7 separate regions of the Homo sapiens genome follow, and regions 1, 3, 4, 5, 6 and 7 are each linked to region 2. The links are contacts of gene promoters, found by promoter capture Hi-C in blood cells and fetal thymus (Javierre and others, 2016). All regions are on one chromosome and are shown on one strand. The core of a region is centred on a gene start or on the middle of the fragment in contact, and the rest is flanking DNA. Distances in the headings are between cores, read along the strand shown. Region 1 overlaps CDC14A (cell division cycle 14A). Region 2 holds the start of AGL (amylo-alpha-1,6-glucosidase and 4-alpha-glucanotransferase). Region 3 overlaps CDC14A (cell division cycle 14A). Region 4 overlaps CDC14A (cell division cycle 14A). Region 5 overlaps CDC14A (cell division cycle 14A). Region 6 has its middle 46 kb from the start of EXTL2. Region 7 overlaps CDC14A (cell division cycle 14A).

Region 1 (4,328 bases), core at 275-2,774, 620 kb before region 2:
TATTTAAAAAAAAAAACAAGACTCTGAAAAATAGAAAAGAAAAAGGCAGATTGGTTGGAACCTTGAGACCTAAGTAACGAAATGGTGGTGAGTTCCTCGAGTTTTCCTTTTGCCTTATATAGCCTAGTCTTAGGGCTGAAGAAGATATGATTCAAAAATGCCAATAGAGCTGATTTTTTTTTCAACAGAGTCCTGCTGTGTCGCCCAGGCTGGAGTGCAATGGCACAATCTCGGCTCACTGCAACCTCTGCCTCCAAGGTTCAATTGATTGCTTCAGCCTCCGAAGTAGCTGGGATTACAGGCACATGCCACCATGCCCAGCTGATTTTTGTATTTTTAGTAGAGACGGGGTTTCACCACATTGATCAGGCTGGTCTCAAACTCTTGACCTCATGCGATCTGCCCGCCTCGGCCTCCTAAAATGCTGGGATTATAGGCATGAGCCACCGTGCCCAGCCCAGAGCTGATATTTTTAAAGCCCGAAGAAAAGCCTGCTCTGTCTAGTCAAAGGAACAGGAAAAGGGTATCCTAGTAGACAACAAAACATTTCAACAACTGCTCTTCTCCAGCCAAACCCCACAGGAAATAAACTGTGGCCCTAACCCTGCCAGCCAGCAAAGACTGAGAGGGGATCCTGGATTTCCACGCTGCCAGGCTATAGGTAGGCACCCCTTTACCCTTTGTCAATCCCTCGCCACAGAAGTGTCAAAGAAGGCTAAGTTGGGAGTCAGATAATGAGATCCCCCAATTTCGGCCCCACTCCTCACTAAGGTAGTAATGGTGGAACCTGGAAGTCCACCTCAACCAGGCAGTGACCAGCAACCCTCCTCTGTCAGCTGGAGTGGTGTCACAGGAGGCCTAGTGGAGAGTGAAGACTTTCACCAACACCCTTCAGTAACAAGGTGACCCCTATCACAGTGTCAGTGCAGACCCGATGGAAAACTAGAACTCCCACCTCCACCCACCAGCAACAAGAAGCCCCTCAGCCTTGGACATCAACAGAGGCTGAGTACAGAATCCAGATTCCTGCCTCCACCTGGTAGTAGCAATGTGGCAACCCCCTGCCCCCCAACCCAGCTGCCACCACCTTCCTCTGCTGAAGCAGTGTAAGAAGCCAGATACAACAGAATGTTTTAGTAAGATCCAGAGTCTCAACATACTAGGAAAATGTCCAGGTTAACATTTTCTCACATTGACATTGACTGAATGAAAAGAGATGATCGCTAAATGCCAACACCAAGATGACAGAGATGTTAGAATAATTTGACAAAGATTTAAAAGTAGCCATGATAAAAATGCCCCAACAAACAATTACAAAGACACATGAAACAACTGACAAAATAGGAAGTTTCAGCAAAGAAATAGATATAAAGAAAACCAAACAGAAAGTTTAGAATAGCATATAACCAAAATGTAAAATTCAGTGAGTGGGTTAAATGGCAGAATGGAGAGATGAGAGAATTTGTAAAGGGGAAGATAGAATAGTAGAAACTACCCAATCTGAATAACTAAGAGAAAATAAACTAAAAATAAAATGATGAAGAGAGTCCCAGAGAGCTGTGGGACTATAACAAAAACCTAACACTCATGTCAACAGAGTTCCAGAAGGAAAGGAAAAAGAGGACAGGGTTGAGAAAGCACTTAAGTAAATAATAGCTGAAAACCTTCCAAATTTGACAAGACATAAACCTAAACATTCAAGAAGCTGAGTAAACCTCAAAAAAGGATAATTCCAATGAAATCCACACCTAGACACATTGCCAAAATACTGAAAACTACAAGGAAGCAGAAGGAAATAATAAATATAAAAACATGAACCAATGAAATTAAAAACAAAAATATAAGGAGAAAATTAATGAAACAAAGAGCTGATTCTTTGAAAATATCAATAAAATTGTCCAACTTCTAGGGAGACTGACAAAGGGAAAAAAAAATACACAAATTACTAACATCAGAAATGAAGCCAAGAAAATCACTACAGGCTCTGCAAACATAAAGGAATACTTTAAAAAAAAAAAACACACTCCACAAACATAATTTTGACAATTTAGATGAAACGGACTAATTCCTCAAAAAACAAACTACCATAATTCACCCAATATGAAATGGATTATTCAAATAGCCTTATATCTATTAAGGAAATTGAATTCATAATTTTAAAAAGAAATCCCCAGGCCCAGATAATTTCACTGGAGAATTCTACCAAGCATTTTAAGAATTCACACCAGCTCTCACAATCTCTTCCAGGAAACAGAGAAGAACAATTCCCAATTCATTTCATGAAACTAGTATTATCCTGACACAAAACCCAGACAAAACAGACAAAAAAAAGAAAACTACAAACCAATGTTACTTATGAATATGGACATAAAAATTTTTAACTAACAGAGTTCAGCAATATATAAAAAGAATTACACACCATGACCAAATGGTGTTTATTCCAGGGACATAAGCCTTCTTCAATATACAAAAAACAATCGATGCAATCTACCATATTAACAATCTTAAGAAGAAAATCATGTGATCATATCAATCAATGCCAAAAAAGTATTTGACAAGATTCAACACTCATTCATGATAAGAACCCTCAGAAACACAGAAATAGAGGGGAACCGCCTCGACCTGATAAAGAACATCTATAGAAAACCTCAATTAACATACTTAATCCAGGTGAATGCCTGGATGCTTTCCTTCCAAGACTGGGAGCACGACAAGGATGTCTGCTCTTATCACTCTTACTCATCACAGCGCTGGAAGTTTTAGCCTGTCCAACAAGGGAAGAAAAGGAAACACAAGGTATATAGATTAGAAAGAAAATAAAATTGTCCTATTTGTGGATGAAAAAGCAATCCCCAAGAATTTGCACATACATACACACACACACACTCCCATATAAAACTCCTAGGTTTCGGGATACAAAATAAACAGAAAAATCAATTGTGGCCAGGCAGGGTGGCTCACACCTGTAATCCCAGCACTTTGGGAGGCCGAGGTGGGAGGATAACCTGAGGTCAGGAGTTCAAGACCAGCCTGGCCAACATGGTAAAACCCCATCTCTACTAAAAATACAAAAAATTAGCCGGGCGTGGTGGCACACGCCTGTAATCCCAGCTACTTGGGAGGCTGAGGCAGGAGAATCACTTGAACCCAGGAGGCAGAGGCTGCAGTAAGCCAAGATCGTGCCATTGGACTCCAGCTTGGGCAAAAAGAGTGAAACACCGTCTCAAAAAAAAAGAAAGAAAGAAAAAGATAAATCAATTGTATTTCTACATACCAGCAATGAACATATGGACATAAATACCATTTATAATTGCTAAAAAAAAATAAGTACTTAGGTGTAAATTTAACAAAAAAGGACTTGCATCCAGAAAACTACACAATGCTGATGAAAGAAATCAAAGAAGATCTAAATAAATGAAAAGACATATCATGTTTATGGATTAGAAGACTCAACAATAGTAAAGATGTCAATTCTCCCCAAATCGATATAGAGGATTAACATACTTCCTATTAAAATCCCAGAAACATTATCTGTAGATTTAGACAGGCTTACTCTAAAATGTATATGAAAAGGAAAAGAAAGTGGAATTGCTAAGAATATTTTGTTAAACAAGGAGAAAGTGGAAGGAATCACTCTTCCAATATTAAGGCTCACTATATAGGTCCAGTAATCAAGAGAGTGTGGCATTGAAGGAAGGAGACACATAGGTCAATGGAACAGAATAGAGAACAAAGAAATAGATCAACACAAATATATCCAAATGATTTTTGATGCTGCTATAGAAAAAATTCAGTGGAGAAACTGAATTTTCAACGAAAATGGTACTGAAGCAACTGGGCATGCATAGGCCAAAAAAAAAGAAGCTTGACCTAAGTCTCACACGTTATGAAATAAACAAAAACCTCAAAATCCATCACAGACTTAAATGTGAATGTAAAACTATAAACTTTTTAGAAAAAAAAATATGAGAAATCATTGAGTCTAGGGCTAAACTAAGAGTCTCAGACAATATCAAAAAGAAAAAAGTGATAAAAGGGATTTCATCAAAATTTAAAACTTTTATTCTGTAAAAGACCCTATTAAGAGGATGAAAAGACAAGTTATAGACTGAAAAAAACCTTGAAAAACATTTACCAGACAAAGGACTAGTATCTAGAATATACAAAGATTGACCTTAGTCATCAAGAAAAAGCAAATTAAAACTATAAAGCAAGTTATCACTTAAAAAATCTAATGGCTTAAATTTAAGAGACTGACAAACCATTGCTGATGAGAACATAAACAGGCATATCTACTTTGGAAAACTGTTTAATAATTCTAACTCTGA
Region 2 (3,761 bases), core at 176-2,675:
CACTTCTTCAATGTTGAAAAATTACAAAGGCTAAGAAAATAAAACATCTATTAACTAGCCTTGTAGAAAAGTAATTTGATCTTTTAAATACAGATCAACTATATATAGTTCAACATAACCAGATGAGTTATTGCACTTTTTATTTGCTAAGAAAATATTTTCAGCTTTTACCTACTCCACATTTGAGAAGTTTTTGATATACATAAACAATAGTTTACTATACTTTTTGCTGCAATCTATTTTGTCAATTCAAAGGTTCAACAAAGGAAAAGAGACAGTTATACAAAGGCAAAACTACATGCATACCCAAAGCAAAATTACATATGAAGTAATTTACCAAGTTTTAATAGTAAATGTTATTAGAAATAATATGGGCAATCTTCTGATCATATATTTAACTTCAATCTTAAGTGGGAATTAGTACGCAGAGAAAAGAGAACTATTTTATCCTTATCCTAACACGAGGGATATAAAATATTTTTAATTCAAATCAACATTAATTAGTGATATATGGAGAACACAGCACCATCTTTGCACAAATCAAGTTTTAGACCCTTGGAAATAATATTTATCTTAGAGCTTTAAAACATTTAACAGGACTGCCAATGAATTAAAAGTTTAAAAGACGCAAATGAGCAAATCAAAACAACTTGCTACTGACCTTGTTCAAGTCTGAAGAGGGTCTTTTCCAGTTTCTCCATTTCGTTCAGAAGTAAAATTCGAATCTGTTTACTGTGTCCCATTTTGGCTTCTAGAGGATTTGAAATCTTTCATAAGAATTAAAAGAACTCCACAGTCGAATGAGTTACCCCTATGAAACAAAAAGGAGTTAAAATATCGAAAATAACTATTGCCTTAAACTCTCCAGAGCTGACAGCGGCACTTACATGTTCGAAGTGTGTTTTATGCCTAGCAGAGCAATGAAAGAGAATGAATCTTATAACTATTAAGATTCGAGAAGGCAAATTAATAGTTGTTTCCTGCCTTTGAGCACAACGAATAAGACCGAAATAAAAATGCTGTATTACAGATTCTTACAATTAAAAAATTAAAAACCTAGACCATTCTCAGAGAAAAGCAATACACTTAGGAAAGCCTGAAGTCAGGGGGACATTCCCAGCCCCAAGCCACAGGGCTCTGGAGACTCCGAATGGCACTTCTGCTTACAAGAGATTAGTCTGCTCAAAGATAACAGGTGGGCAATCTCCCCATTCCCAAATTCGGGTCGCCAGCCACCAATGGGGAGATGAGAACAGAGGGAAGCAGTTGTTGCCTCTGGAATAGCTGCCGTAGACAGAAGATGTACAGAGCGAGCTATAGATAGAAAGAATGCGTTTCCCCGCGAGGCCAGCGGCATTCCTAGCACTTACGCCGAGGGAGTTATACGTGCGGCTTCTGGGGCACTGCAGGACCCGCGACTCTGGTGCTACGGTCGGGGGGAGGGGACGGGGAGAAACAGAAGGGGAAGGGCTGGCTGCCCAGCCTCGCACAGAAGCCGCAGCCCAAGGAGGGCCGGGCGCCGTGAAGGGCAAAGGGAGGGGCGGCGAGCGACCGGGGCAGCGCCGAGGCAGCTGGGTGAGAAGCAGGCAGAGTCTCAGCGACTTCGCCTCGCGCGGGTTCCTGGGCGCACCCGGTACCCAACCTGGCCGTGCGCGCACTCGCCCCAGGTGGGAGCGGACCGTACCTCTGGCCCACTTCCGGGAGGCTCGACCCGCCCGCCCCGACCGCTAGTCTCGCGAGAGCGTGGGCACCGCACCGTCTCAGTCGGCTCCGGGCCGGGGGACCTGGAGCCTGCTGCGGCTGAGGCCGGGAGCGGCGCTTTCTCCTTGCCCTGGGGAAGGTGCACCGGCCAAGGCGCGGCCTTCCTTTAACAGCCTGCGAGCTCACAGTTGCACATTAAAATCCCGCGGTACCGGCTGCGAGCTAGGTTGAGCTGCACAGTAGGATCTTTTGCTGGGAAGGGCTGAATGGTGAGGGGCAAACGACCTGGCTTCTGGTGTCTTTTGTGCCACCACGTGTTTTGTTTCTTTGTTTTGATAATTTTTACTTGGCCTAAGTTCTCAGAGTCCTGATTTCTAAGTGTCTAAAATAAGGGGCCTGGCTACAGCCTTGACATTCCAGCCAACACGTGTCCATCACTTCTAGTGCTAACAGACAGGACACATGTTCCTGAATGCAGACCCAGTAGGTAAGGTGTGGCCAGTCTGCAAACCATCGAGAGTGCAAACACCACTGATACTTAACGGTGTCCGGGTGTACCTCATGTACACTAGATAGACCCGGAGATCGTCTGAGATTAAGCTGCACTTATGTTAGGCCAGTAACTCAGAACTTTTTGCAGATGCTTAAGGAGATTTAATGCCTGAGGGTAAAGGAAAACCCATCTTCCAGGGCTTTTGGAGGGCTCCTAATGGTTATGAGAAAATGGACAGAAGATTTGGTTAACTAAGACTTGTGGCGTGTGGAGAAGATTCTTGCATTCTTTATTGTGGAATGACTGTAGGTCCAAAGAGGATATAAGTTAAAAAAAAAAACCCCATACTGAAGTATTTGTTTATTTCTGTAGATTTCTGAGAATGGCTAGTTGCAAATGGTCCGTAACTGACTTTGGGAACCCACAGCTCATTTTCTGGCCCCTACTATTTGCCAGGCACATAAGGTGCTGGGAATGCAGCAATAAAACAGTCACTGCCCTCAAGGAACTCCTACATTTTATTGGTGGGAGACAGATAAATTAAATAAATTATACAGGATATAATATATCCTATATAATAAGAAGGATATGTTATATCCTATATATAATAGGAAGGGGGAAGTGTGGAAGAGTAAGCAGAGAGAGGTTTGCATTTCTAAATATAACGTTCAGTAAAGTGATGCCAAACTGCGAGAAAGAAGAAGTCTAAGGTAGAGGGTTACATGTAGAGGTATAGGAAGTACAAAGGCCATGAGGCAGGAGCATACTTGGTGAACCGAAGAAGATCACCATAGCTGAGTGAAGAAGAGAGTGGTAAGAGATTAGGACAGACAGATGGGGCAGGAGAAGGGATCAGGAGCACAGACGGGTGACCAGATCTTTTAAGGCTTTGTAGGCCATTGCAAGGACTTGGGCTTTTAAACTTTGGAAAAAAAGCCATGGAGATTTTGAACAGAGGAGTGACATAATCTGATTGACCTTTTAAAAGGATCGCTCCGCAACTTTATGGGAAATAGTTGAATAAACTGTAGAGTGTAGCAAGGAAGGAAGCAAGGAGACCAGTTAGAAAGCTATTTTAGTTATTCAAGCAAGAGAAAGTGACTTGTGTGTGTTTTCTCTGTGTCGGGGGGTTGGGGGTGATGGGGGGGAGGTGGTATAGCAGGTGGTGTAGTTGCTGAATTCTGGACTATTTTGAAGATAGAACCTACAGGATTGGTGGAGAAAGGAGTCAAGGATGACTCCAAGGTTTTTGGCCTGAATGAGCAGAAAGCACTGTCCAATAGAAATATTAAGTGCCACATAGGTCATTTAAAATTTTCAAGTAGCCACATTAAAAAAACTTTTTTAAATACAAAAATTAGCCAGGCATGGTGGCACATGCCTGTAGTCCCAACTACTGTGGAGGCTGAGGCAGGAGAATCGCTTCAACCTGGGAGGTGGAAGTTGCAGTGAACCCAGATCATGTCACTGCACTTCAGCCTGGGTGACAGAGCGAGACTGTCTCAAAAAAAAAAAAAAAAAAAAAAGAAAAGAAAAGAAAGTTTTGAAAAAGGTAATATTAATTTTA
Region 3 (3,797 bases), core at 507-3,006, 610 kb before region 2:
AGTGAAGAAACCTGGCTGTAAGATATTAACTATGTTATGATGCCACTTTTGTTAAAAAAAAATTTTTTTCAAAATGCATGTATCCATAGAATATACAATGTCTATATACATAAAAACTTTTAAATGGCTTTTACAATTATATCTCTCAATTTCTCATTAAGAAAACGTAGTCAAACACATGAATCACAAATGGTGAAAGTCTTTCGACTTTGCCAAATACCCAACAACAAAACTACTACTGAAACAATATCCCTACTAACATTTCCTGGGCCTGAGTCAGATAATTTGCACAGAAAGCAGGTTTAATCAGTCTTATCTTGAAAGGCCAATTGTCAGAAAGCAGTTTCCTCAGGCTCTCAACATGTAATTCCTAACAACCCAAAATGACAGAGGTTAATTATTGAATGTCCAGACCAAAAAAGATTATTTAGCAAGCTTATAAGTAAGAAGATCAAATTCTGACTTCACCATAGAGGTATCCTGTTTGTGAGCTTAACTCTCTAGACCTGGATTGCCCATTCGCATGGTAAAATCATGATTCAAGCAGAGTTCCCTATTAAATATGTCACAGGTATGAAATGATAAGCATATTTATGAAAGCTCAAATTATAAAACCTAAATGCATGAATAACAATATACAATGAAACTAGATTCTAGAATATGATGATTAAAGAAAAATAAATCTTTTTTTTTTTTTAAGAGACAGGGTTTTGCTATGTTGCCGAGGCTGGTCTTGAACTTCTGGCCTTAAGCAATCCTCCCACCTCAGCCTTCCAAAGTGCTGGGATTGCAGGCACATGCCACCATGCCCAGCTGAAGAATAAATCTAGACCAGAGGTTTCAAGTTAGGTTCCCTCAGAACACTGGTATTCCACCTCTATGATCAGATAGAAAAAAAAAGGGGGGGGGATATTTTGTTCATGGATATTTTTTCAATTTTATGTACTTCTCTTGTAAATTATTCTTGAACCTCTGTTGTCTATCATTACTTGTTTTCTAGGGAATATTAGTAGATAGAAAAAATTAGTAAGTACAAAATAAGTCTTAATGGGAAAACTTGCATAGCTGATCATGTTTCATTCAAAAGGTTTATTTTTAGTTTTGTTTTTATTTTTTTCCTAAATATGTATGCCCATGGCAATAAATTATGCTGCAAATAAGTAGTTTAACCACTGTCAGCTAGAAAATTGTACCTAGTTGTCACAATGGAACTAAGTGTATCAGTGTAGTGGCAATGTTTAGGAGCCCTCCTCTGGTTTGGAGTACCAGTTCTGCCTATTACTTTGTGACCTTGGGCAAATTCTCTACTAATAAGGCTCAATTTACTCCTCCCTAAAATGCAGATAACAATATCTGTATCTCATAGAGTTGTGTTGAGTGTTAAAAGAGATAAATGCTGTGATCTGTGTAACTAGCACCTAAGTATTCAGTAAATGACAGATTGTCTTCATCATCATTATTCAACATGGTGTTACCCAAAGAACATCTTGATGTGTAGCACTCTACCAACAAATAAATCTGAGAACCACTGAAAGAATACAGCAATCTGCTTATGAGTTTGACCAGTTTGTTTCTCAGATTCTTCTCTAATAATTGGGGGTCAGGTAAAGTGAACATCCTATTTATGGCAAGCTAAAAATTTGTTAAGTTCTAAAACAGTGATTATAGCTCCACCTACTGGAAATACAATATTTAACACACTATTACTACTGTTCAATTTTTTAAATTATGAATAAATATTCTTTGGAGAATATTACCAAAGAAAATAATTATCTGAGGAAGTTAAGAAACTTAGAAAGATAAATCAAAATAAATGTTTGGATGGTAAAGGAAAAAAAAACCTACCATTCTCAATTTTGCTTTTAGGATGTGGTCCACTAAATGCTAAAAATTTTCCTGGAACAATCCAGTTGAAGTCACCATTTTCAACTCGCTGGCAGAATTTTGTAAGAAAAGAGAAGAAAAATATTTTATAATTCTTATACAATTTAGGAAACCCTTACAAATAAAACTGCTTTTCACTCTTAGTACTAATTAGACATACATGTAGACAAACATAGCTTAAAATAAAAACATGCACCTGATTCTCAAAATGCTATTTAGGAATTCAATCCGCTTTAGAAAAACTTGTGTCTAGACTGTATGAAATGTTTAGAAACTTTTATTTACGGCAGAGGTATTTTGCATAAAATGTTTGTTTCCTGGCCACTGCAAAGAAATGAAATGGAAACAAACATTGCTTGTCTTGGCGATAAATAAGAGAAAATGGGAAATATGAAAACTTTCCATGAATGTAGTAAACATATTTTAAACAATGAAAAAACATCTGTAAATATCAAGCTCCTGATGAATACACTTCCAATTTTTTTTCTCTTTTTATAGGGCTGTTATCTCTTGTCAATGCTGATTTTTAGAGGGGGAAATGGCAAAAGGCAGGAGCGAGTGATATTGGCGCATCCATTCCACAAACCAGAGTCAGCCAAGCTGTACTCTGGAGGATAACAAGATTCAAGCAAGGGACATACATAGAGTCAGGTGCTCCTCCACTCCAGCTAATGAGACACCTTGTAGGAAAGCCAACTGAACACAGCTGATCTTCCAACTGAATTTTCATGTGAAAACTCTCTTTTTAAAATGTTGACTTTTTAAATTAGGTTTTTAACTCCTGTGAAACCAAATAAAACATGCCCATTGGCTGACTTTGAGCACCAGTTATCAGCCTCTAGTCTAAACACGCTAAGAGATCCTCAGAAAAGGCTTAAGAAGACCAAGAAAGTAGCCAAGCACATTCCCATGGCTCCATCATCTCCCCCATTTTCTTCCCTTCCCCATGTGCCTCCGAACCATGGGACACTGGGGCACGAGTAAGGTTACCCCAAATTTTGCAGTCATTAGAAGGCATTTGTGCAATGCATCACAAAATATATATATCACCTCTTCACTTACGCTGTCTTTACCACCACCACCCCCTCCCCACCTACCCCTACCCTTGCCCTCCTTGTCTCCATCCTCAGGGCAGGGAAGCAATGTTGTTCTCTTCACTGGGCCATCCGTTACCATCCATATAAAAAGCTTTCTCCCCCCATTATATGGCAAGGACCTCAACAGTAGAAAACTGACCCAATATAGACTCTGTACTCTACCATAAGAACACAATAAATATTTGTTAAACAAATTGGAATATGGCCATCAAAAAAAAACTGGAGCCATTACTTTAATTACTTATATTACCCATTATCATTTCCATGAAAATCAAAACTTGGCTATAAAATATAATTGTCATTTTTTAATGCAGATTTTTTTCCCAGTTATAAAAAGTTATATGTGAAACTGTGCATACCATCTTATAAACATCTGAACTGCATTTAATCTAGTTGTAATAAACATAATATCTCCAGCTGGGCGTGGCGGCTCGCGCCTGTAATCCCAGCACTTTGGGAGGCCAATGCAGGTGAATCACCTGAGCTCAGGAGTGCAAGACCACCCAGGGCAACATGGTGAAACCCCGTCTCTACTAAAAATACAAAAAAATTAACCAGGTGTGGTGGTGTGTGCCTGTAGTCCCAGCTACTTGGGAGGCTGAGGCAGGAGAACTGCTTGAGCCCCAGCGATGAAGGTTGCAGTGAGCCGAGTTTGCACCATTGCACTCCAGCTTGGGCCACAGAGTGAGACTCTGTCTCAAAGGAAATAAAAAAAATATCCAAAATGCCCTAAGTAAAATCTAAGAAACCCTGAGTGTTATGATTGCACATGTGAAATTAAACCTCAAGCATAGCTTCTATTTATAACAACTTAAA
Region 4 (3,931 bases), core at 257-2,756, 640 kb before region 2:
AGCTTCTCCAGAAGCTCCAGATGCTTAAGCCCTCTTTGAACTGCCCTCACTAAACAGTCCTAAACCTAAGAATGAATAAGAACCAGCAGGTGAAGAGCTTCTTTCCCCTATTTCATCAACACTCTTGGCCAAACATCTCTGCTGCTCTCACTGAGTGCCACACCAGATCGTGGTACCACTCCCGGAGGTTTCAGGGGACATTTTTCCACAGAACAAAACTAGTGTTTCCTCTTGAAAAGGAAGGTAGAGAAGAAAATAAGACTAGAAAATAAAGGAGGGGAACAAATGCATGCTGATTGGGAAAAAATAGAAAGAGGACCAATAAAAATGAAAACAATTTAAGCTAGATCTATCACTAGATCAAAAGGAGAAATGCAGAGCACCTGTAGTTTCTTAGAGACCCCCCTCCACAATGTGCTAAGAGCACAAAATACATTGATGTCTCTACCACCACCACACAGTCCTGTGGGCATGCCAGCAAAAAAAAAAAAAAATCCTTTTCATGGTGAGCATTAAAAATAAGGCATAAACAATATGGAAGAGAAAGGAAGCAATTTAAAAAGCAAAAAGCTGTGTACAGTTGATTTTCGTGTTTGAGGCTTGGGAAACATGGCTAAAAGGAAGCATATATTTACAAGCTACTAGACATTCAACCTCATTGGCAGTACCTGAAAGGCTGGGACACTGCTCTTGGATGTCCTTTTGTATCATCTGACCTGCGGAAATCAAAGACAGATGCTCACATATCACCAGGGCACACGTTTTCACAAAGACCACAAGGCACATCAAATGGTATCAAACCAGTAAAAATATTAAATTAGCAAAAGGGAGAAACCTTGCAAATGGATATTAGATTACCCAGAACCAGGCTTGCTATCCCCTTTTCTCATAATACTGCAGAAAATGATAACCTCATCTTTGAGCAATATGAACCTTTATTCCTTAGATCAGGAACTCAGTAAAGACCCAATCTGACTACAGTGTTATAGTTTCTCCCAGATTACACATGAAAACTAAATTCCCTGTGAATCTGTTTGGTGTTTACCATACCGGCAAAACATCCTTCTGCTATGTGTATCTCTTATTTATAAGTCAAAAAAATGTTGCTGCTTACCATTATATTAATTTGTGGACTGGGGCCTTGCCACCCAGTATATTGTAATTTTAAAAAATGATGATATTTACAAACGTTTGCACCTTTTGATTCCCCTTTTTTTAAACCCAATCTGAGCTATCAGCAGGTTTCAAATGTGATCAGAAGTCAAGTCCCATCATTGATTCTGGTGAGTAGTTTGAGACTTCAAAGTCAAGATGGCTTATAACTTTACAGGCACAGGTAAGAATTGCTTATTCAATTTTCAAAAATAGAAGGTAAAGCTGAGGAACTAGCTTAGATTGCCAGAGACTGGCATACAATACTTTTATATACACTATGAGTCAATACAACAGCCTCAGCACACCTGTGAGGATCCAACACAGGACAAGAAACTCATTCACAGCAGAAGGGGAGAAATCCAAACAGAATTTGAAACAGAGTCCCAGAGATAACTGCTTTGCAGCTTAAGGTAGAATTCCAGAGACTGAGATGGCAGCAGTTGCTTTCAATAAACTTCTAAACTTTAGCTACTCCCAACAGTGATAAAATAATCAATAAACAACACAAAATAGTAAACTTAGTATTTGTAGAACAAAATTCAAAACAGAAGATTACAGATTAAAGAGAAGATGAAATGTTCTATTCACAAAGGGAAGCACACTATAAATTGAAGTGTTTAAAACAGATCTACCTAAATGCACAGGATGGTGAGGTACGTGGCTGTCTCTGACTTTTTAAGGCACGTAGTTTGTCTCCCTGGGTTATACCATTTTTCATTTCCACATCATCATCTTCTAAGTTATCCTGGAAAAAAATACACGTTCCATAGAAAGGTCAAAATTTGGCTTTATATAGGTTTCTTAACAGACTACATATATAGATACATTTTATACAGATTATCTTAATATAGATTAAGTCACTAAAGGTACTGTGAATCAGCATTGTCAAAGTTTACACAAAAGAACACTCAACTATTTGCCAGTTCAACAGGCAACAAGTCAAATTCCAAATCAATGAAGCATGGGAATAGATGTGGTAGAATATACAAGGAGCTGTTTGTTACACTGGACAGCAACAGAGGAGACTCTCCTGCAGACACAATCATACGTTGGAATATAGCCTAGATACAGAAGGGCCCACAGATGCAGTACAAATATGTTTTTAGATACTACCAGGACCCATCACTGCAAATTCCATAACCTGTTTACAAAAATACAAGATAAAAATACTTTAGGATATCTATACAGTAAGTTATTAACACAGTAATCATGTAACACTAGTAAAAGCACACAAGCCCTTTTCAGAAGGATTTAAAGGACCATGTTCACTAGATCTTTCCTTCTGAAATAACTCTTTAAAGTTTGAAAAATAGAAGTACCATGCTAGTCTCTTCAAATGCTAGTCTCTTCAATAGCCCTGATGCAGGGGGAGGCACTGGTACCCTTATTATCGATGAAAAAAGGACATACTCATGGAAGTTAGGAATATTGCCCAAGCTCCCATAAGCTCTTAATGACCTTTGTGTGACTTCAAAATTAGATTTATTGTCCCAAGATGCAATGTTCTTTCTAAAATATATGCCATAGCACACTGTCATTGCACCAGTGAAGACTGTATTTTGCCTTTTTTCCTCAACTGAAAAATCAAAGTGCTTGGATTTGCTAAAATCCCTCCCAGCCGTAATAGTCCCCTCCCCTATTTAAAACTAGAACTCTTGTTTGATGAAAAATGTACTTCCATCAAGTCACATTTGAGTCATTTCTCATCGCAATACCTCCTCAATCCCGGCCACCTATGTTGGGTTCCACAGTAAAAAGATCAAACCTCACCATCACATCTCTGAGTTTAAAAAAGAAATAAAGAAATGCAAAGCACAAGGCCAGTGGGAAAGAAAGAATAAGGACAAAAGCTTCCTAGAGGCAATCCCTTAAAGAATGGGTGCAAGTGACGCAGCCCAAGATCCCAGGAAAGGTCGTCCTGTGCAAGAATACCAGCTCAACAGTCACAGGATCATGGAGTCTTCATGACAGAGGATTCTCTTAGAGTCTCAAGTTGCACTTCTAAAAAATCTCCAGAAATCAGTTTTACCATTCAGTTCTATCCATACAACCCCAATGGGGGAGGAACTTATTACCATCAAAGGAAGCCTGCAAGAACAGAAATCAGGAAGGTCTGACAGCTAGGCTTGCCAGTGGGATGGTGCACCTGAGAAGGTGAGCTTAGCTTCACTAGGCTGCAGTAAGCACTCAACGTGCTGGGATGTTAGCAGTTACTTAGCACAGAGCCAGAGTTTCCTGAATATGAGGTGAGGCCAAAAAACACATAGGTCCTCATGAGAATGGCTAAGAAAGCTTCTAGGAGGACCTGACAGAATCCTTGCCACAATCAGTTTCATTGTCAACTGGGTGCTTTTGTACCAGGAAAGCTTATTTGTTCCTCCAACTAGGAGGATCTTTATGTTTCCCACTAGAAACACCTTCAAAATTCTAAATATAAAATGATTCTCAACCTGTAATTCTAAAATTCAACCTTTCAGGTAAGTATAAAGGTAAAACAGATATAAAAATTTACCTCCCATACAATCTTTCTGAGAAAACTATTACAGGATATGCTCTTCAGGAAAAAAGGAAAGATAACATGAGATCCAAGAAAATTAGGGATCTAACTGAAGAATATGAAGAAGAGTTATAGAATCAGGCTATATAGTTCTGATCCTAGGACTTCACACACACACACATACCCACACACACACACACATACACACACACACACACACACACAGCAGGGCTAAGAACAACCAGTCCAAGTTAGAAGGGAGAAATGTCTTCAGGAAAA
Region 5 (4,207 bases), core at 1,456-3,955, 660 kb before region 2:
AGCAAATTATTCTGACATCAGTATTTTGTAACAAATTAACTTCCTTTCATTTTCAATCTAAAATAAAAATCTTAATACAGATGCACTAAGGGGGCCACAGTGGCTCACACCTGTAATCCCAGCACTTTGGGAGGCCGAGGCGGGTGGATCATCTGAGGTTAGGAGTTCAAGGCCAGCCTGGCCAACATGGCGAAACTCCATCACCACTAAAACTACAAAAGATTAGCAGGGCATGGTGGCACATTCCTGTAATCCCAGCTACTCGGGAGGTTGAGGCAGGAGAATCACTTGAACCCGGGAGGCGGAAACTGCAGCGAGCTCAGATCACTCCATTGCACTCCAGCCTGGGTGACACAGCAAAACTCCGTCTCAAAAAAAAAAAAAAAGAAAGAAAGAAATGCACTAAGGGGAGAAGAGAATTGTTCAAGTCTCCAAGATCTATTCACTTAACAAAAGCATAACTAACACTGTGAGACCTTTCTATTCAGGGAGCAACAGTGTTGGATGACAGGAATATTTAAACTTCAGGTATCACATGGTTATCCTACGGGGTTGTGCTGACGGTCTCTCTGGGTCATTTGTACTCAGCCACAGTTGAGGAAACCTCAAGGAAAAACACAAGTACTCTCCATTTCAAATCTTAGACAGGTTAGATAGATAAGCCAGATGAGTGCCTGGTGGGACCTAATACACATCGTAACAAAGCATAACTTCATGCTTTTTTTGTAGTCACAGGTAGGACTACCAACTATATACAATGTTTTCCAAATGTCCATGTATTGTAAAATTACTAATATCCCAGAAAAGACTATAGCCAGTTACTGGCATTTTTAATTTTTATAGTAAAATTACATTTTATAGTAAAATTGCATTTGCATTTTGAATTCCATGAACAATATTATTGCTATTGATTTTCGTATTCAAAAATAGATTAAATACAACTAGCTGAACTTCTTAACAAATTAGATATATTACTTGACACATCAATTATTCTGAACTAGATATTTGAGTACTTCCTATATGCTAAGGACAGTTCTAAACATCTTATACATATTCACGCATTAAATGTTTCAGACAACCCACTTTACAGATGAGGAAACTGAGGCACAAAGCAGTAATTAGCCCCAATTCATGTAATTAAGAATTGGTGGAGCTGGAATTTGAACCCTAGCAGTCTGACTCTAAAGCTCAAACCCTTAGCTACCATAGTTTAATGTCTCAAGACAGCGAGCATTTGCCTTGTGATCACTACATATTCAATCCAACATTCTCTATCACCCTAACATAGACAAATAATGACCTTAGGCAAGATATGATTCTGAGTGAATAAAAAAAATTATTAAAAAATATTTGTTGCATTAAAAGATAAATACATTTTTGAATGATTTTCATCAGGCCTGAATTCAAAGAATTTTCAGGAATATTCTAAATTTAAAAGAAATTTTCATTATAAGAACATCCATGCTTAAGTATTATGAGTTGATTAAAGTTTTAATTCTGATTGGCCAATGTTTTTAGTTGTTACAATAATGAATTAATGAATCTGAAATACAAAATAAATTATAACAATGACAGTGAAGATGGTTATAAAGAAAGTGAAAATAATTTTTATACCTGAAGTACAAATATTATTTTAGAAGTTAGCCCTTGTTTATATAACCAAGAGATTTTAATTTCTCAAATATAATATTCAAGCTCATTTAATTAGTAAGCTCAACAGAGTTATAGTGAGTTAGGACCAGATCAAGTTTATTATGAATATGTGGTATTCTTATTGTATGAATACCATAAAATTAATAATGTAGCAATATTCAACCTGAAAAATAAGGATAAAATTGCCTTACATTTGCAGCCCCCAAAATTTTTATGTCAAAATATAAGCTTCCATCAAGAAGTCTTGTTCCCTGAAAGCAGTAAGATTTGACATAAAACAAAGTGTTAGGTAAGGAGATCAAGACAATTTGTTCTGTTCTGGAAATCTGCTACTAATCTGTTTTGGCAGATGTAGGTAGTAACTTTAAAATTTTAGCTATTCTGGAGGTGTTTCTTTTTTAAACAGCCCAGTTACCTAATCATGGCAGGAACATGTCTAATAATTACAGATATAAATATTGTACAGATGGTTAATAAATAAAACATGTTAGCTATCAAAAACAGCAAATTATAAAGAATAATGAAAGATTAAGGTCCTTGACAGCAAATGAATGTAACGATGTCTTAATGTTCAAATAACTTGAACCAAAGGATCCAATGGCCTGGAATGTTAGCATCCTACTAAGGTCAAAATCCTGATTCAAAATGTTCATGGACTTTTTTGCCACACTGACATTTTCTTTCCTACATTTTCCCCAGTCCTTTAAGGAATAAACAATAGTGTACTAGTTATCCCTGGTTTAAGTTCTAACCACAGAGGCAAAAAGAACCTAAAATAAAAATGGTTTGTTTTAATGTGATTGAAATTAAAGGAAAAAATACATGCTTGGCAACATGGTATTTTATATACATAACTATAGTGTTTTAAGTTTTAATGAACAAATACAACACTGGGGAAAAATAAATACACCCATAACTGCCTCTGTACTCCTATGTCTCTTTAAGCCTTTGTAATAGAGTTTCCAGTTTTTGTATTGCTCACAAATTAACACATAAAATGTGTGCATTGATACTTATTTCCATAACTGTGGTTTCACAATACTGAAAGTATTTTTTATTTTTTATTTCAATAGGTTTTGAGGTACAAGTGGTTTTTGGCTACATGGATGAATTGTATAGTGGTGAAGTCTGTGACTTTAGTGCACCTGTCACCCAAGTAGTGTATATTGTACCCAACATGTACAATACTGAAAGAATTTGCCTCTGTTAATATGATACATATTTCCTCCAATAACACTAGATGAAATGTAGCTGGGTATGGTTTTATTGGCATCATATTAAGATAAAAGGATGAAGGTTTGTGTTAAAATCAGGTTCGAAAGGTGTGTGTGCATTTTTCCATAGTGTTCTCTGTGCATTTCAGGGACTTCAAGACTTAAAAAGCCAATTTGGGCTCATTATAATGCTATATAAAATAGTCTTTCACCTTCCTACATGATTTTTAATAGATTCTTTTTTCTGGAGAAATTTAATATATGCTTTTCAACAATCACAAAGAGCTCAATTGTTAGATGACAGATTGTTGACACCCAGCTTGACTCAGCCAACCATTACATGAGTGTTTTCAGTTCATCTGAACACCAAAATTATATTGATGCAAACTCAGTTAAAATTTATTTTCTCTTATTTTAGTAAAGCCACATTTCTAGAAAAAAAATACACAACTCCCAGATTACCGTATATTAAAGCTAAAGCTGGAAACTTGTTTGTTTTCTGTTAGTGCTTCATATGCTAACAATGAGACCCAGGCTCCTAAACACTTTAACATTCACGAACCCAGATACATTATCTGACTTTTAGTTCAATAAGTATTTATTAGGCACTTATACTGTACTGTGGAACCTCAGGAAACAAGAGATGTTTCTGAGAAGCTTAAAGGAAAGCAGAGGAGAGAGAGAATCATGTATAACTGACTATAATATGAGAGTGTCAGCGCTCCTAGGAGAGTCGAGAAAGGAAGAGCCATTCTGTTTAGATGGGTCACAAATGCTTATCAAAAAGATAACTATCGAGCCAGGTCAAGAAATACAAAATCAAGCAGAGAAACAAGGGAAAGCAGAGTGGACTGCAAGTGCTAGGGTTCAGGCTTAAGGCAGGTCGTGCCAGGTAGAGCTGCTGGAGAGGAGGCTGGCAGGGAGGCACACAGCCCGACAGGGAAGAACCCTGAATGCCAAGCCAGGGGAGCCAGACTTGACCCAGTAGGCAGAGTGCAGCCACTGAACAAAGCCAAACATGAGAAGGATTTGATTAGCTCTGTGTCTCAGAAATTTAACACTGGCAACAGTATAGAGGAAAGATTAAAGGTAAGAGACAGGAAGACAGAAAGGGCTATGCGATAGTTCATGAAGACCCCAATTAAGGCAGCAGTGGTAAGAATGGAAGGACAGAGGCATTTTAGAGGGAGACTTGATAGGACTTAGTGACTGGTGTGACAAGGGAAAGGCAGGCAGAAGTAGTGTCAAAGCTGACTCCAAATGTCTAGCTTGGATGACTGGATGAATAAAGATGAGATTATTCGGCTAGGAAACCAAAGAGGAGCTGGCAATGGAAGGAA
Region 6 (4,050 bases), core at 707-3,206, 1.0 Mb before region 2:
AATTCTCTGGCTAGTTTCTGCACCCCTTTTGAAAAGCAAGAAAATTAATTCCTCTCATACACCACTATTGGCTCTTAGGAAGCTCAGTAAGGTGACCTTGGGCTTTAGGTGCCCACACCCACATACACAACCACATCTGCTACTAAGCCTGTTCCATGACGGTAGACGGAATTTCTGGAGACAAGGTTGTCTTCAAAAATTCCCCATGATCTTACTATTCAAAGAGTGGACCATGGATTATCTGCATTAGGATCAACTGGGAATGTGCAGACTCCTGGGCCACATTTCAGAACTACTCAATTAAAAGTGTATTTTAATAAAATCCTCAGGTAATTTTTATGCACATTGAAATTTGCAAAGCACTGATCGGAGATACAGCATAGAGTTTCAATTTACCCTCAGAACCTTGACTTCATCTAAGGATTCTATTGCTCTCATCTCCCCGAGGGGCTAATTACTGAGGGAGAGGTATGGGGAAGTAGGGTCTGGTGATCTTTTCTAAGAGAGTTTTGTCAATGTCTTAACAATCTTGTTTCCCATCTCCACTATATCCCTTTTCTTCTCTTAGTCCAGATAAAGGTTTAAGTTATTTTCTTCTGAGAGAGGAAAATGCTCCAGCAAGTATTTGATTTAATCTTTCTATCACATAGGTGGGCATTTTAAACTGAAAAGCCAAGAATGTGTTATATTTATTTTCTGATTGTGCTGTAATTCCCTCTCCTTCCCTTCTTCCTCACATCTCTGCTTGGGCCATTGGAACAATTCAGTTTAGTTGCCTGGATAGGGGAGGTTCAGGGTCAAGGTAATATAGGAGAAAGCAATTAATACTTGTCCATATCATCTCATGGGGATAAGGATTTTATTTAGGTTTTAAAATATTTTAGACTCAAATGGATTTATGTTTTCTAGAAAGCCAAACTACATTTCTGAAACTGTAGTTCATTCTGTCATATTGAAAGTCCTTCTATAAGGCTGTGTTTTCTGAAAATGGGCTTTGCTCATAGAATTTTTGTGTGTAGATAGTGAATATTGGGCAAGTAGACTGATAGAAAGGACTTAAGCCTCTTCTGTCTTCAACAGTCCAGTTTGGTGCAATAGTTGATGTTTCAGATAGGTCTTCTTTGACTCTTTAAGAGTGAGCTATGCTCACTTTGAGTTCCAGGTATTTACTTCGATGTTAGCATTTAACACTTTGGTCACTGTATCCCTTATTAGACTACAAGATTACTGAGGACAAGGATCAGAGTCTCTTTCACTGTTTCATCCCCAATGCCTAGCCCAGTTCCTGGCTCATAGGAAAAACAAACCTGCTTGGATGAATAAATGAGCAAATTTATTGGTATTATTCAAAATTTTCCTCACTGAGCCTCAATACATGAGAGGGAGAAAATAAATATATAAAGTGTCATGGAAGTCTTTTAGTCCAATCACTGACTCAAAGTAAGAATCCTATATATAGAATCTCTACAGAGTCAAGCTTTTGCTAAAATATTTCCAGAAGAGGGAATATACTTAGGTTTTTTCCATTTATGGATCATTCACATTTTTAGAAAGTTCTTTCTTTATTGAATCAAAATCTGCCTCCTTAATTCTGTCTGCCCTTTGGAGTTTTATAGATTTCCATTTCTATAGTATAATTCTCCAAGTTTGCTAAAAAGACACAAGTTCAAAAAGATTTAAAATGTAGTAAGGATGGCTCATCTTGCACAGAAATCACCAACAGCTGGAACATCTGCTTTCTCCCTGATAAAATAAATAGGCTTTGCTTTGAATTTAGGTATTTATGGAACTGTCAGAAATGGAAAGGGAGAGGAATATGTGGGTTTGGCTACCACATTCAAGGAGGGAGAATTACCTTGATTTTTAGCCTTTGATGTGAGAGCAGCATCGTTTAGGTGCTTTATGATATCTGTCATATAACACAATATGGGGATTCATTTCTGGTTGTGGTATTTTACATTTGAAAATGCTCATCAAAATTTCTCTATGTGCCCTTGTTCTATGCCCATATAGCTACTCCCTACTGTCATTATCACTCCAAATTCTACATTTGAAAGACCAGAATTACCTCCTCCTCTTAACCAACTGTTTCTACCAACTACTCTATCACTGGCACTATTATTCTCCCAAGAGCAAAAAATACGTGGTTCATTTATCCTGCTCATCCCCACATCCTCTCAGCTACATAGTCGTGAGCATTTCTCACCTGTAGTGTTTCTTACATTTACTTCTTCCTCTCCAGTAATGATGAGGAGGCTCTCATTGCTACATGATTCATTTGCTGCTTCCCTTTCTCACTCCTGCTCCTATCCTGTTTTCGTGAAGAAGACATAGCACAGCTACATTATTTTTTTCTTGAATTCCATTGTCATCAATCTTTCACCTAATTTAAAATCCCAAACATATGGATGACCTGGTACATCAGTCTAAGCTTCTCTACTTCCATCTCAAGGTCCTCCTTCAACCCCAAAACCCTTAACTCTCAAATTGTCCAGGCTCATGTTAGCTACTGCACCACCCCATACAACCCACCCCAAACTCCAAGCCCACTCCAGTTGGTACCCTCTTTCCTTGCAACCCATCTGCACCCCAACTCATCCACAGCTGTGCTACATTTGCATTTGTATTGATCTGCTCTCTCTTCTGTGCCAATTCTTAAGTTATATTTTCCCCACAAGTTTTTATTCCAGTTATTCCAGGCCTTATTCTTCTCCTTCTCTTTCTATCACTTAACATTTTTATTGTGAATTATGATTTTAAAACAGGTAAATAAAACATGTGCACAGTTTTAAAACAGGTTGTGAAAAGAATACCCATGTAACTACCACTCAGATAGGAAGGAGAGTATTCTGGGAACCCAGTACATTTTACAGTACTAATAGTCTGTACCTCATAATTTAGTACTTATGGTAATTAAGTATCATCTTGCCTTGTCTTATGGCTTAAATGTGCCATTGTATTCCTCCTACTCTATTGTAGGCTATTGAAAGGCAAGGGCTCTACAGATTATTCTTTAGAATATCCCACAGTGTCTCAAACTGTGCTAAGTAAATACTACATATTCAAGAGATGCTTGTTCATTGATTACAGACTAGGAAAAAGCAACACTTAGTACAAACAATATGTATGTTTATGTCCAAAAACTAACATTGTTATATCTTTCAAACACATGTTAATCTTTAGGAAATAGCACAGTTCTAACGTCTTAGCTTCTTTTTTTCCCACATATTGTCCTCCTTGGTTTCGGTTTTCTTTTCTTTATATGGCATTCAGCTTTCCTGGTGATTTCTCAGGGAATTTCCAGTTTTACAAAGCAGAATATAAAAGAATGCCTTGATAATAAATAGAAGTCCCTGGCAACACAGTAGAAACACCAATGATTGCCTGTCTTAATTCAGTTAAAGAACTGCTATAATCACAAAGCAGTCTTCTCTCTTCCACTGCACAATTCTCTCATGAAAAGAAACTCTGCATTGCATCCAAAGGTCTTTAGCAAATGTTAATAACATTCCACATATTGGAGGTTTTATCACACAGGACCTCCAGCAAAGATTCCATAACAGCAATAGGAAGAAAAATATACATATATATATATATATATATATATACACACACACTCTAAATATATATACTAAGGAAATAGTAAACCTAAGAAATGCACATTTGAAAAAAAAAAAAAAACTAATCCCTGAAGGAGTTCTCAGTGCAGGACATTTGACTTAAGGAATTGTGCATTGTAAATTACATTAAAAATGTATAAAATATGCTGATAGTGATATACAGCAAAACAGCATACATATTACAAGACAACAAAGAACTCTAATGTTTGGTCAGATCTATGAATCCCTGAGATGTTGGGTTAAGTAAGTATTCCTTACATAGGAGAATCTGTGATTCAGCAGCAGAAAGAAGGAAATCTATTCTTTTGTCCTATCTTACAGTTTCTATGACTGAGGCAAAATTCATTATATTAAAGAAGCATTTCTTGTTCCAGCTAATTATAATCAGACAGTGGAGAAAAGCAGAAAGAAAACTTACATTATCAAAATG
Region 7 (3,916 bases), core at 59-2,558, 580 kb before region 2:
CCAAGCTTTAGGAAAAAACTAAAGGGATAAGACATCGAATGTTCACAGCTTTATTCCATTACTGTCAGCACATTACCCTACCTAACCTTACCTCCAGACTTAGTCATTATTTTTCATGCCATGCTCTCTGGATATGTCTTCAGAACTAGATCCCTGGATGTTATTTATTGTCAGCATAATTTTATTCCCTGTTTAATTGTATATGTCATTTTATTTTATATTTATTTATTTATTTATTTATTTATTTTTTGAGATGGAGTCTTGTTCTGTTGCCCAGGCTGGAGTGCAGTGGCGCGATCTTGGCTCACCACAACCTCTGCCTCCCAGGTTCAATCAATTCTCCTGCCTCAGCCTCCCGAGTAGCTGGGACTACAGGCACATGCCACCATGGCTGGCTACTTTTTTTTGTATTTTTAGTAGAGACAGGGTTTCACTTTGTTGGCCAGGCTGGTCTCGAACTCCTGACCTCAAGTGATCGCCCACCTCCCAAAGTACTGGGATTACAGGCGTGAGCCACCGCGCCCGGCCTATATGTCATTTTAAAAACTGGCTTTTAGGAGATTTAGGAATTATCACCAATACTAAAAAACGTACCAACCTGATACATATGGACCAATAAACAAAGAAATAAGTATAAAATGAATTTAAAAGCACAAGAGACATCTTAAATAAGAATTGTACAATTTAGATTGGTTATCTTTTCAATGTTTTGCGGGACTTTAAATTTTCACAAATACTGTTTTGTGAGCACCAACAATGTAGATTTGAAAACCACTGCCACTGACTGCCATGAAAACAATCTGGACATTCCACTAAGGGTCACTGGTCTCCTGGGGTTTTAGACAAGCTGAGATTAATACGACTTTGTTTGCTCAATAGTATACACTATAATTTAGTAGTACACTGAAAGGAAGAGAACCTAAAAAGATTCATACCTAGATTGTCAATTCAAACTCTGCTGAGTCTGACCCCAGAACTGAAAGGCCTCTTGTTCCCTTGAAGGCTAACTGCCAAGCCAACACTGAAAATGGATGACTCAAAGAATTAAGGTAGATGAAAAACACCCCTTTCCCCTGATTTTCACCTAAAGTCACTCTTAATCAACACATTGGCTATTCTCAGTAAAAGTGAATACAGTTTTTGACACACCTACCCTCCAATTCAACAGAACATCCTGAGACTGACTCACAAGTGACATCACAACACTCACTGCTGTCACACAAGCCAGAAATTCAACTATCTCTAAAGTCAACTATACTTAATTTAATCAAGAATAGGCAGTTAAAGCTACACAATTCTCGTTTTTTGTTAATTTTAACTAGGTGAATAGAATCTAAGTAGGAATAAAATCAGATCATTCTTTTGGTTATAATAATGTACCCATACTGTGAACTTCGTATTATATATACTACCTAACATACCATTATACAACCTATGCCATACGAATAAATAAAATTAGCACCTAAAATCAGTGCCTGAATTGCTGTTCTCCAGTTTTCATCCTAACATGAAAGGCATTCCATGGGGCCTATTCCTAACATCTTCTCCTACCCCCCCATTTCAGAGTTAAACCTCCTTCCTCAGTATTCCCATAACACCTCTCTCCTAATTCTAACAAAGCACTGTAACTGTTTTACACACCTATACATGTATACAGACTATACACTGAGCTCTCCTGCAGCAGGTACCAAGTTGTCCTAAACATCTTTTGATCCATAGGACTATCACAGTGACTGGCACTGAAAAAGCAATAAATATATTTTAGTATACTTGCTCCCTCAGGACACAATAGGAAAAGAACCAACCACAGCCCTCAAGAGAAGAGTCAGCCATGCAAACAAATAATTATAATACAAGGTGTTTGCTTTAACGTTGTATGTAGCCTTGTAATACATAAAATGTAATAGGGAATCACAGGCAAAGGACCTGCCAAGCCTCTCCAGAAAAATGAGGAAGGCTTTACAGAAGTGACTGCTCAGATAAATGTTTGCAAAGTGAAAAAAATTTGAAAAACAGCATTATTTAAATTCACAGTAGCCATAAAACTCTTTTATTAGAAAGAAACTAAAATATATAGCACAAATGGGAACACAGACATTTCAGTGAAAAGTGTATATGAACATACCAACCACACCTTCAACAAGCCTTCAAAATCATCTTCATTTTTAAAAAATTTTAAATAATAAAACAATTACATCCAAATAGAAATTCCTTTAAGGCTTCTCATTTTTAATTAAAAGTGTTAATATATCAGCAGTTGAAAAAATCTAGACAATGAAGACAAAAGTGTAATTTCATAAGAAATGGGATTTTTTTTTAAACCTGGTGATAATAAAACCCAGATTATAATGAAGGCCAACGCAATGATGGCTGCCCAGAATTTAGTATGAGGATGATTCTTGATAGAAGTCCATTAGTCTTAGTTGGCCTGAACTGTAGACTAAAAACAACTCACATCTTATCTTAGCATAATAAAAAAATTAAGTTTCCAGAAAACTAGTAGTATTCTTTCAACTAAATTCTTCACTAAATTATAAATGTACTACTTTGTGGTATTTTCTGTTTCAAATGTATGGTTTATGAAGATTCTAGATTTAGAAATGAAGCTTAATGTAAATACAACTCTTGGTATCCTAAGATATCAAAAAGATAGAACTTAGAGTTACATTCAAAGGCATACTTTTAGTAGGAAATGGGTGCATATCTTCATTTACTTATACGTGCATAAAGAAATTCTAGACTGATATCAAATCAACTAATACCAGAAGTTACCTGGAAAGGACTAGACAGATGAGGATCAAGGATGGGAGGGATAATTTTCACTTAAACCTTCCTATATAGATTTTTTAAATTTCTGAACTATGTTAATGTATTTATATTTTCAAATATTTACATAAAAGTATTTGAGTGAAAAATATTTGAAAAATAGGCTATAAATTTAGTATTTATGTAGAATTGAAATCAATTCTATGTTAAGTAGTATTAATTATCTTACTATCTTTTCTTCTATTCTGGTATTATTATTTTAAAATTCTAGTTCTTGACTGGGTGCAGTGGCTCACACCTTTATCCCAGCACTTTGGGAGGCTGATGCAAGTGGATCACTTGAAGCCAGGGGTTCAAGAGCAGCTTGGCAGACATGGCAAAAGTCCATCTCTACTAAAAATACAAAAATTAGCCAGGCATGGTGGTGGGGGCCTCCAATTCCAGCTATTCAGGGGGCTGAAGCAGGAGATTCTCTTGAACCCAGGAGGCAGAGGTTGCAGTGTGCCACTGCACTCCAGCCTGGGCGACAGAGTAAGACCCTGTAATAATAATTACTACTACTATTAATTATGTTACTAACAGTAATAATAGTATAATGCTAACAACAAGAAAAACAAAAACCAAACATTGCACTAGGCAGAAGGATAAATTTATTACTTCATTTGATCCTTAGTTTAGACCTGAAGCCATTTTACAGATAAGGAAACTGTGGCTGAGAGAGGATAAGTAATTTGTCCGAGATACTTATTTACTACAGACAGCAAGAAGCAGAATGAGGCTTCAAACTGCTTGAAGTTTCTCTGCCTCCAAAGTATATACTCCTAACCACTTTGCTTAGAACTTAGAATTATCAGCATTATTACCCCTTTCTGAAAAAATAGGATTATATTTTACAAAGGACTTTCAAAGTATAGGAGCCATTAGAAGTGGAAGGAAAAATAAGCTTTGTCTTCACCATTAAAACTTTCATCTACATTATCTGCCATTTTTTATTTGCCCTTCCACGGCTGATTACCTCAGACTCTAGGTTGATTCAGAATATTTTCCCCTCAGGGTCCAAATCCCAATGCCTTACTCCTTGACTTCACTTTAATTAAGCACAATAGGTGTTGCTTCTTCCCTCCCCATGTCTTACCCTAACAGCTACCTC

Evidence for each region. Contacts are between HindIII fragments. The CHiCAGO score rates a contact against its expected background, and 5 or more counts as called.
Region 1: a contact is called between a fragment that was not itself captured here and the fragment with the promoter of AGL in region 2, in 7 of 17 cell types (non-activated CD4 T cells, total B cells, activated CD4 T cells and 4 more). The highest score is 7.6, in non-activated CD4 T cells.
Region 3: a fragment that was not itself captured here is called in contact with the fragment with the promoter of AGL in region 2 in 2 of 17 cell types (M1 macrophages and fetal thymus); the score reaches 5.6 in M1 macrophages.
Region 4: a fragment that was not itself captured here is called in contact with the fragment with the promoter of AGL in region 2 in 1 of 17 cell types (activated CD4 T cells); the score reaches 5.1 in activated CD4 T cells.
Region 5: a fragment that was not itself captured here is called in contact with the fragment with the promoter of AGL in region 2 in 1 of 17 cell types (neutrophils); the score reaches 6.5 in neutrophils.
Region 6: a contact is called between a fragment that was not itself captured here and the fragment with the promoter of AGL in region 2, in 1 of 17 cell types (activated CD4 T cells). The highest score is 5.6, in activated CD4 T cells.
Region 7: a fragment that was not itself captured here is called in contact with the fragment with the promoter of AGL in region 2 in 2 of 17 cell types (total B cells and M1 macrophages); the score reaches 5.9 in total B cells.

The regions. Positions count from the first base shown.
Region 1 is chr1:100,472,301-100,476,628 of GRCh38, reverse strand. All of the region lies in intron 10 of CDC14A (cell division cycle 14A), which reads right to left. Among named protein-coding and RNA genes, the nearest start is that of GPR88, 64 kb to the left of the region's middle. The HindIII fragment of the contact is 4,684 bases long and covers 1-3,866 here.
Region 2 is chr1:99,848,025-99,851,785 of GRCh38, reverse strand. It overlaps AGL (amylo-alpha-1,6-glucosidase and 4-alpha-glucanotransferase), which reads right to left and starts at 1,425. Exons shown (of 34, transcript NM_000642.3): 1 at 1,371-1,425; 2 at 662-811. The coding sequence starts at 743. RefSeq lists enhancers at 331-1,304, 1,955-2,104, 1,305-2,279 and a silencer at 1,455-1,774. The HindIII fragment of the contact is 4,640 bases long and covers 1-3,761 here.
Region 3 is chr1:100,453,541-100,457,337 of GRCh38, reverse strand. CDC14A (cell division cycle 14A) reads right to left here. Exons shown (of 16, transcript NM_003672.4): 8 at 1,846-1,933. Among named protein-coding and RNA genes, the nearest start is that of GPR88, 83 kb to the left of the region's middle. The HindIII fragment of the contact is 2,637 bases long and covers 438-3,074 here.
Region 4 is chr1:100,492,787-100,496,717 of GRCh38, reverse strand. CDC14A (cell division cycle 14A) reads right to left here. Exons shown (of 16, transcript NM_003672.4): 12 at 1,788-1,900; 13 at 669-716. Among named protein-coding and RNA genes, the nearest start is that of GPR88, 43 kb to the left of the region's middle. The HindIII fragment of the contact is 3,003 bases long and covers 5-3,007 here.
Region 5 is chr1:100,511,566-100,515,772 of GRCh38, reverse strand. All of the region lies in intron 15 of CDC14A (cell division cycle 14A), which reads right to left. Among named protein-coding and RNA genes, the nearest start is that of GPR88, 24 kb to the left of the region's middle. The HindIII fragment of the contact is 1,643 bases long and covers 1,884-3,526 here.
Region 6 is chr1:100,846,839-100,850,888 of GRCh38, reverse strand. No RefSeq gene overlaps it. Among named protein-coding and RNA genes, the nearest start is that of EXTL2, 46 kb to the left of the region's middle. The HindIII fragment of the contact is 954 bases long and covers 1,480-2,433 here.
Region 7 is chr1:100,425,538-100,429,453 of GRCh38, reverse strand. The region is part of intron 5 of CDC14A (cell division cycle 14A); the gene reads right to left. Among named protein-coding and RNA genes, the nearest start is that of CDC14A, 75 kb to the right of the region's middle. The HindIII fragment of the contact is 2,601 bases long and covers 8-2,608 here.